2 separate regions of the Homo sapiens genome follow, and region 1 is linked to region 2. The links are contacts of gene promoters, found by promoter capture Hi-C in human tissues and cell types (Jung and others, 2019). All regions are on one chromosome and are shown on one strand. Each heading gives the region's core, a stretch centred on a gene start or on the middle of the fragment in contact. The rest is flanking DNA. Distances are from core to core; before and after follow the strand shown. Region 1 overlaps FREM1 (FRAS1 related extracellular matrix 1). Region 2 holds the start of ZDHHC21 (zDHHC palmitoyltransferase 21).

Region 1 (3,824 bases), core at 1,325-3,824, 68 kb after region 2:
ATTAGTGTGTACAAGTGTTTCATGCTCTCATTCTCTTGAAGCGCTCTTGTTATAACGACTCCTAAAAAAAATTCTTCAATTCTAGAAGCCATAGGTTGTGCTTCATGGGTCACATCAATGAAAAGAAATAGCAAGTTGACTGATCTAGAAGTGGTTAACTGAAAATTCTTCATATTTCAGGGTGCCTGTATTAGTATATGCTCTCCTAATTTTGTATGGCTTGGACAACTCTTAAGATAGATGGGTTTAAGCTGCCTATTTGCCTCATCAACTGAGCCCATGGGAAGTGACTGAGGTGAATACTAAGAGAAAGCCTCTTGGGACTGAAATTTGCTCTGGGTACCCCACAGAATGTCTTGCATACAACATCTCTTTCTAAAGCAGAGTTCAGCCCAAGTTCACAAAGTTGAATATAGCTCCCTATGAAATAAAACCTCAAAGTCTAAAGAGTTCATAGAAACAAATAACAGCTTTCAAAATTAAAAATGGATTTTAAAAATTAATATCTCAGCCAGGCAAGGTGGCTCACGCTTGTAATCCCAGCACTTTCGAAGGCCAAGGTGGATGGATTGCCTGAGGTGAGGAGTTCGAGACCAGCCTGGCCAACATGGTGAAACCCCGTCTCCACTAAAAATACAAAAATTAGCAGGGCCTGGTGGCAGGTGCCTGTAATCCCAGCTACTCGGGAGCCTGAGGCAGGAGAATCACTTGAATCTGGGAGGTGGAGGTTGCTGTGAGCCGAGATTGTGCCATTGCACTCCAGCCTGGGCGACAAGAGCGAGACTTTGTCTCAAAATAACAATAATAATAATAATATCTCTTGTGCTAGCTTCAGCAACACGTACACTAAAAAATCATATCTCAGAGTTTATGAACTTAGATGATGGATGGAGGGCCAAGGAGGTTTTGTGCTTAGAATCCTCAGAATAGTGGGATCTCCCTGCAATTTGAAATTTCCTTGGTCACTCTGAATTTTTCTAAAAAAAATATAATGAAAGACACCAAAGAACAACATAAGTTTTAGCTTGATAATTTACATTTCAGAGTCATTACCTTTATACCCACAAAGGCCGAGTCCATGGAATATCCCCTTCTGATAATTTCCAAGGGCAACAAACCCACATTCTCACAGACTTCATATTCGGTCTGTGACCATTCAATATGAGACCACTTCAGTTCCAAACTGTGTGTGAAAGGAAAAGAGAAATCATGAGAATGCATAGTATATGCCTATAGGGATTCTCTGCTGAGCGGACTAGTGGAAAAACGTGGTTGATCAACCTACACCAGTGATGGAAATTCCTTAAGACTTATTTGACACATTTTAGTTCACAAAGAATGTCTACTAACATTATCTCATTTGATCCTTACAACAACCCTGTAAGGTAGACAGAGCAAGGATTAGAATTCCATTTCACAAATGAAGAATCTAAGGTTAAAAGGCTGCTGAATGTCTCCCAGATATTTACAACTAAAAGGGGACTCAATCGTGAATGTTTTGAAGGGAAAGGAACCAGCAGTTGTTAAGTTCAAGGAGACATTCCTTTTTGGAAAAGACACTGATAGGAAGTCTTCTATCTTATCATTTAGATAAGGATAATTGGTACAACAAGAACAATTCCAGACAGAGATATTCTCTGAACTTGGGTTCAGTTTAATAACAAAATATTTTTGAGGATGTGCTTGGGAATTAAAATGTACATGTGTTTCATAAGTGTTATTTGTTTCTCTTTCTGTGCATAAAAAAAGGACTCTACTGGTATGAGGCTTGGATGCAACTATATAACTAAATAAACCTGAGAAATAGAGGATAGTCTTTCTTTCCACAATATATTTAGTGAGTCCAACATTTGGTGGAAACTGTCTTCTTTAATCTTCATCTAGAGAGGAACATTTTTTTTCAAAAACAAACAGACAAACAAGCTTCAGAGAGGTTAAGTAACTAACTTAAAGGCAAAAAGTCATGACAAAGCTAATAGCAGAGATGAAATTCAAGCATAAATCTAATGCCAAATCTTCCATCCAACCTCTACCATTTCTCTCCCCAACTGAAGTTCTTTGCGACTCTTTTGTGAGCTCAAGCAGAGCAATACGGTTTTATCTTTACCCAGAAACATTTTCCTTTTTGAGGTCTTGCCTTTTTTTTGCCATCTGTAACCTTACTATAGAGCAGGATAAAAGACACAAGCAACCTTCACTACGATTGTTAACTGCACCTCCATTGTTTTTTATTCAGTTGCCTTTTATTCTAGATTTACAAAATCCTTAGTGGTTGCCTTACTTGTACTTCCCAAACCTCTAGTCAGATTTAGACTCTTTCCTCTTTACTTTTAAGTTTATTTATTATAATTTCTTTCTTTTTTTGTGGAACTAGAAATTCTGGGTGCCACCATATGGAACATGTGTTCACATATTTCACACACTCTCCAGGCTTTCCTGGGGCCATTCATATTAGGGAGGAAGTTTGTCTTCAAATAACCACTGTGTCCACACTGATCATGTGTCATAATCACGTTCTATGGATTAAGCTCACGAGCCAGATAAACTCAACAGTGTAGGTTCATAGCTGAGCATCATGGGCTAGGGGGCAAGGGTAGGGTAAGAGCATGGAATTATTACAGGGGCTCATGAATCTATATAAACATACCTGTTTATTCAGTCAGATTTAAAATTTATTGTTTGAGTTTATTGCTACTTCATATTAATAGAATTTTAAACAAGAAAAGAGGATCCTTGTATTAAAAAAATTGGAAACTTTATGGGTCTCTGATGCAACTGAATTTAAATCTCGCATGAAACAGATCAAGAAACAGAAATAAATGACTACGGTAATCCCTCTTTTTCACAATTTGCTTTCTGAAGGTTTCAGTTACTTGTGGTCAACCGTGATCTGAAAATATTAAGTGAAAAATCCCAGAAACAAATAATTCATAACTTTTAAACATCATGCTGTTCTGAGTAGTGTGATGAAATCTCACATCATCCCCTGCTGTTCCACTTGGGGCAAGAATCATCCCTTTGTCCAGCACATCCACACAGTAGATGCTACCTGCCCATTAGTCACTCTGTAGCTGGCTTGGTTATCAGATTGACTGCCAGCCACAGTGTCACAGTGCTTGTGTTCAAGTCACTCTAATTTTACATAATCATGGCCCCAAAGTGCAAGAGTAGTGATGCTGGCATCCCATGATAGTTGTTCTATTTTATTAGTTATTAATCTCTTACTGTGCCTAGCTTGTACATTAAACTTTATCCTAGCAACGTATGTGCAGTACAGGAAAAAGCACAGTGTACATAGGGTTCAATACTATTTGCACTTTAGACATCTGCTGGAGGTCTTAGAACATATCTCCCACAGATAGGAGGGATTAGTGTGTGCCTAAAGAATTACAAGATAACAAACAACAAGGATATCATAAATGCCAATAGAAATATGTTGCAAAGAATCCCAAAAGGATCCAGTTGAATGAGAAAGAAAAAAAAAGTCAGCAAGATGGATTAGGGGAAAAGAGAGAAAGATGAAATGGGAAGGAAAGGAGGACAGTGGGAAAGAATGAAACAAATACATTTGCATGGATTTCAGCCATCAGTAGGGTTCAAATGAGTTTCAATGTCCAATTCTTCTGAGAATTCATCCATTGCTAATGCTAACCATGACAAGTAAAAATCCATCAATGTCATTCTGTAGATCCTGGTGACCTCAAGGCGAAAAGCTAAATGCAATTTGATTTCTGATCTAAATTCAGAAGGGAACCATTCAGAGGGCTGTTCAGCTTCAAGGTATAAAGGGTCTTACTGTTTGGGAATGTGCATGCATTTCCCTG
Region 2 (4,357 bases), core at 1-2,500:
AATCTAAAGAGTTGGAAGAATTTAATATTACACCAAAAGCCTTTTAATCCAGGAATGGCGCATACTAAGCAGTCATCAAATGGTGACTGTTATTAATATTATTCTTACCACAAGGAAAGCAGTGAATTTTTAAAAGTGCATATATTAGCATAGTAGGCTGAGGACCTATTTAACACATCTTTTTAAATTGCACTTAATTATCCTTAGTCGCCTTTGGACTGTAACTTTACAATATAATTTATGACCCGCCCACAATGACCTTGATTTTTTTTTCTCTTCTACTTTTAGAGACTGCTATATTGCAATATTTTAAAGTAATAATTGGTCATGTCCTCTCAGCCCTGGTGATACAGACATCCACCCTGACTCTCAAGGGATCTTAAAATGTGACCCACATATAGCTTGAAAAAGACCGTAACTTAAATGGACTCTGCAGTTACAATCCAGCGACCTGTTACAGTGAACAGTAACAAGTGCAAACTGCTGCCATCCATAAGCCATTTTCCGAAAACCTCTTTGGATCAAGAGGAGAGGAGTGAGAAGGTCAATAAAGGAGCAAACTGTTTGTCCTCTCTGCAGCTTCACACCAGAAGTCTGGAATGAATGAAAAGCTCTGGAATAGCACAGAGAAACCCGGGATCCCAGTGCAGGTCTCCAGACGGGGGTGCGGGGAGAGAAACTGTAGTTTACAAGCGAGAAACTCAGGATACAGATTTAAAATAAATAAATAAATAACTAGCCAACATCGTCTCGACTAGAGCAGGAACCCCCCACCCCCAGTTGAGGGAGGAGCACTTAGCAAGGGGCTGTAGCTCTAGCAGAAGACGCTCTGAAAAAGGCCAGGCCTGGGGCGGGGAGGCACCGAGAAACCCCCGGGTTCCAAACAGAGCAGGTGCAGGGGGCGTGCAGGAACAGGTGAGGGCGTCCCGGCGCGGAGGAGCGGCGGGCGGGCCCGGCAGAGCGGAGCGGGGGCCGGGGATGGGGGTGGGGGTGCGGATGGGGATGGGGGTGGGGGCGGCCGCTTCGCCCCCGCGCCTGCACACTCACCGTCGCCGCTGGCTCGCCTCTCGCTGCCGCCGCTCTCCCGACCGCCAGCAGCTCTTTCCCCTCCTCCTGCCGCGCCACCTCCGCCTCCTCCGGCGCCGCCGCCCAGGCCGGGCCGCTCTCCCCTTCCGCTTCCGGGAGCCTGAGGGCCTGGACCGGCCGAGTGGGTGTCCGCATGCCCGCGCGCCCGCGTGGGGAGGGACGACTGCCGCCGTCGCCGTCTCGCTTAGCTCCCGGGAGCCGCGATGGGAGCCGCTGAGGGCCGAAACTCCTGCAATCGCGCCGCAGCCCCAGAGCCGCGGACCCAGGCAGACCGCACTCTCCAGAGCGCTTGCACCTGGCGCGCCTGGGCGCCTCTGCCCCTCCCCAGCCCTACTTGAGCCGTCCTTCTCATTGTCCCCATATCCTCACTGCTCACCTCTCCCGAGAGACAGGATGGGGGCCTTAGCTTAAAAGATTGCATGTATCCTTTCTTCGGGGGATGTGGCCAGCAGGCCTCTCTCCCCGCAGGTGTTCTGGGATGTCCCATGGTACCTTGCTTCAAAGCGCGGTCTGCAGCATCAGCATCCTCTGGGAACTCACAATCTTTGAAATGCACAATTTCAGGCCTGCTGAATCAGTACATGCACTTCAGCAAGATCACCAGGTGACTCCTGGGGTGCACCGTAAAGATGGAAAAGCATTGCACTGTAGTGCATGGTCTCGTCCACTTCAGACCCTCTATTGGGTTGCCTCAGACATCCCAGGATATTTCCTGTTCCTGTCCTCAACCTAAATCCACACCCAAACAATCTTTTCTTATATTTTGGGAGACCTCCAAAAGTTTCCTGCTTTCCCATCCCTGCAAAAGCCGACAACTTTTGGACTCAGCGATGCAAGTAATCCACCTCTCAGTCTAACTTGGTATCTTCACCAAACACCAGAGATCTACTAACTTTCCCACCTCACTCCGGCTGAACAGTATTTGGGGAAGGTTAAACCGTTTGCAGTAATGTGGAGCTAGATCTTTCTGCCCACGTGCCACAGGAGGAGACAGTGTGTTGGTGGAAGAAATATTACCTGTTGTATAAAATCTGTATTCCTTATAAGATGTGCTTAAAAGCCCTCCACAGACACATCCCTACCTACCTCTCCAGTCTTAGCTCCAACTAATTTGGTTCATTTCCCCATTCTAGAATGCCCTGCTCTCTGATGATCTTAACCCTATCCAGATTTGAGAGTGGAAATCTTGCCAAACCAGAGTTCTCTCACCACTGCCCTTATATAGTGCACATTGTTGCCTGTTTGGGGCCTCATATTACCTTGTATTGCTAAGGATTTTTAAACATGTTGTGTCCTGGTTTCTGAACTAATTATAAACACCTTGTGACCTTAAAAACTTTGGTCAGTGGTTATCAAAGTGGGATCCCTAGACCAGCAGCATCGGTATCACCTGTCAACTTGTGAGAAATCCATATTCTTTTGCCCCATCCCAGATCTACTGTAGTAGAAACTGTTTAGGTGTAGCCCAGCAATCCGTGATGTAACAAGCCTTTTAGGTGATCCTAATACACACTCAAGTTTTAGAATTACTGACCTAGATTACTAGATATTCCCAAAAGAACCCAGTGGTAGGAATTGATTTACCCATAAGCAGATTTTATTGCCTTTCAGGTTAACAAATACACTCCCCGATATATGCATAGCGAGGTTGAAAGACTAGTCACGATTGCTTTTGATAGAATTACCTTTATTTTTCATAAATCATTTGATGTAGTAGGATTTTTGTAACTTTCTCTGTTTGAAAAGAAGGAGATATTTCATATAAACAATCACTTTGAAGGAAGAGGAAATGTGGAATCCTCCCACCGGAATCCAGCTACCTGATTGCGTATTCAATGTGAATCCCTTCTACCCAAATCCAGCTACCTGATTGCATATTAAATGTGGACTCCTCCCTACCCGAATCCAGCTACCAGAATTGCATATTAAATGTAAAATCCCCCCCCCACCCAAATCCAGCTACCCAATTGCATATTAAAAGTAGAATCCCCTCCACCTGAATCCAGCTACATGAATTGCATATTATTTTGCTTTCTCTTCAGATACCCCTGTGAGAGGGAATAATTTGTGACAAGTGATCTCAAAACTGCCAAAATAAGAATTAGTTGACAGGTCCATGATTGCACATGACAATTGGAAGTGCATGGATTTTTCAGTCCCTTTTTAAAATAAGTTAGCCTGTCTTTTATCAGCCAAATCAATTCCACAGAGAATTTTTAAGCAAGGGAATAGGAGAGAAGAGGCAGGAGAAACATCCTTAAAAACATGAACCTTTTTAGCATGGGCATTTCATGAGTATAATCAAAGGCCTGCCTATCCCTTACACTGAAGGTCAAGTCATCTGGTTCTATCATTCATGCTAATCATTGGTTATATTGTATTGCAACCCATACATTCAGGCACCTGGGTAACAATAAGGGGGTGAGGGAGATGTGGCATCAGGTAATCTTTTGAAAAGATTTTCTATTTACTGGGTATATTATGGAAAGACGATATAGATCGTACCATATTTTTTCCCTCCAGAATTCTAATCTACTTCATGGGGCCTGGGACAAACTGAAATGTGATTATTAATCAAACTAATATTTATCTGGAAGTAGAAAAAGTAGACAAGGACAAGTAGCATTGCTGCCACTGCCAACCAAGCTTCTAACAAAGGCACACTCAGGGCATTTATGAGGGTAAACACAGCCAACTCCTGTGCTTCTGTGCCGTGACTAGGGAGGATCTGGATTTTAGTGCAATTTCCAAAAATCAGTGCAGTCCAGAGTTTAATCAGTACTGGCTAATAGCCCTTGGCAGCTTTGGATGGATGGCATTCTCCACCTGCCCAGCTGGGTACCATGCCTTAAGCACCCATATTTGATGCACATTCATGATTTCTTGGTTGCCTATAGTTGTCTCTCCCATCTGTTTGAGTGGCAGAGTGCCTGTGCCATAACAATCTAATATTCTAAAAGTTGTTCTTAACCTCTTCTCTTTTGGGTTACACATCTCTTTGAGTATCTGATGAAAGTTGTGGACCCCAGCAAAGTACACATATACACAAATACACACACACACACACACACACACACATATATACACACACACATACAGGAACATATATATTTATATATATGAAATTTATATATATGAAGTTTCACAAGTTGCCCCACCTTCCTATGCCTCCAAAGGATCACAGCGAAGCCAGGAACTTCAGGCTAAGAAATATCCCTAGAATGTAGAGAGTAGGTAAAATAAACATTTTTCCCCAAATATCAAGGAAAAC

What was found. Contacts are between HindIII fragments. The study calls those that stand out against the background at their distance.
Region 1: a fragment that was not itself captured here is called in contact with the fragment with the promoter of ZDHHC21 in region 2 in 2 of the 25 tissues and cell types used here (mesendoderm cells and thymus).

What each region holds. Positions count from the first base shown.
Region 1 is chr9:14,758,719-14,762,542 of GRCh38, forward strand. It overlaps FREM1 (FRAS1 related extracellular matrix 1), which reads right to left. Exons shown (of 37, transcript NM_001379081.2): 28 at 1,054-1,183. Among named protein-coding and RNA genes, the nearest start is that of CER1, 38 kb to the left of the region's middle. The HindIII fragment of the contact is 4,095 bases long and covers 528-3,824 here.
Region 2 is chr9:14,692,182-14,696,538 of GRCh38, forward strand. It overlaps ZDHHC21 (zDHHC palmitoyltransferase 21), which reads right to left and starts at 1,251. Exons shown (of 10, transcript NM_178566.6): 1 at 1,048-1,251. RefSeq lists silencers at 893-1,032, 1,113-1,182 and an enhancer at 1,256-1,756. The HindIII fragment of the contact is 8,706 bases long and covers 1-4,357 here.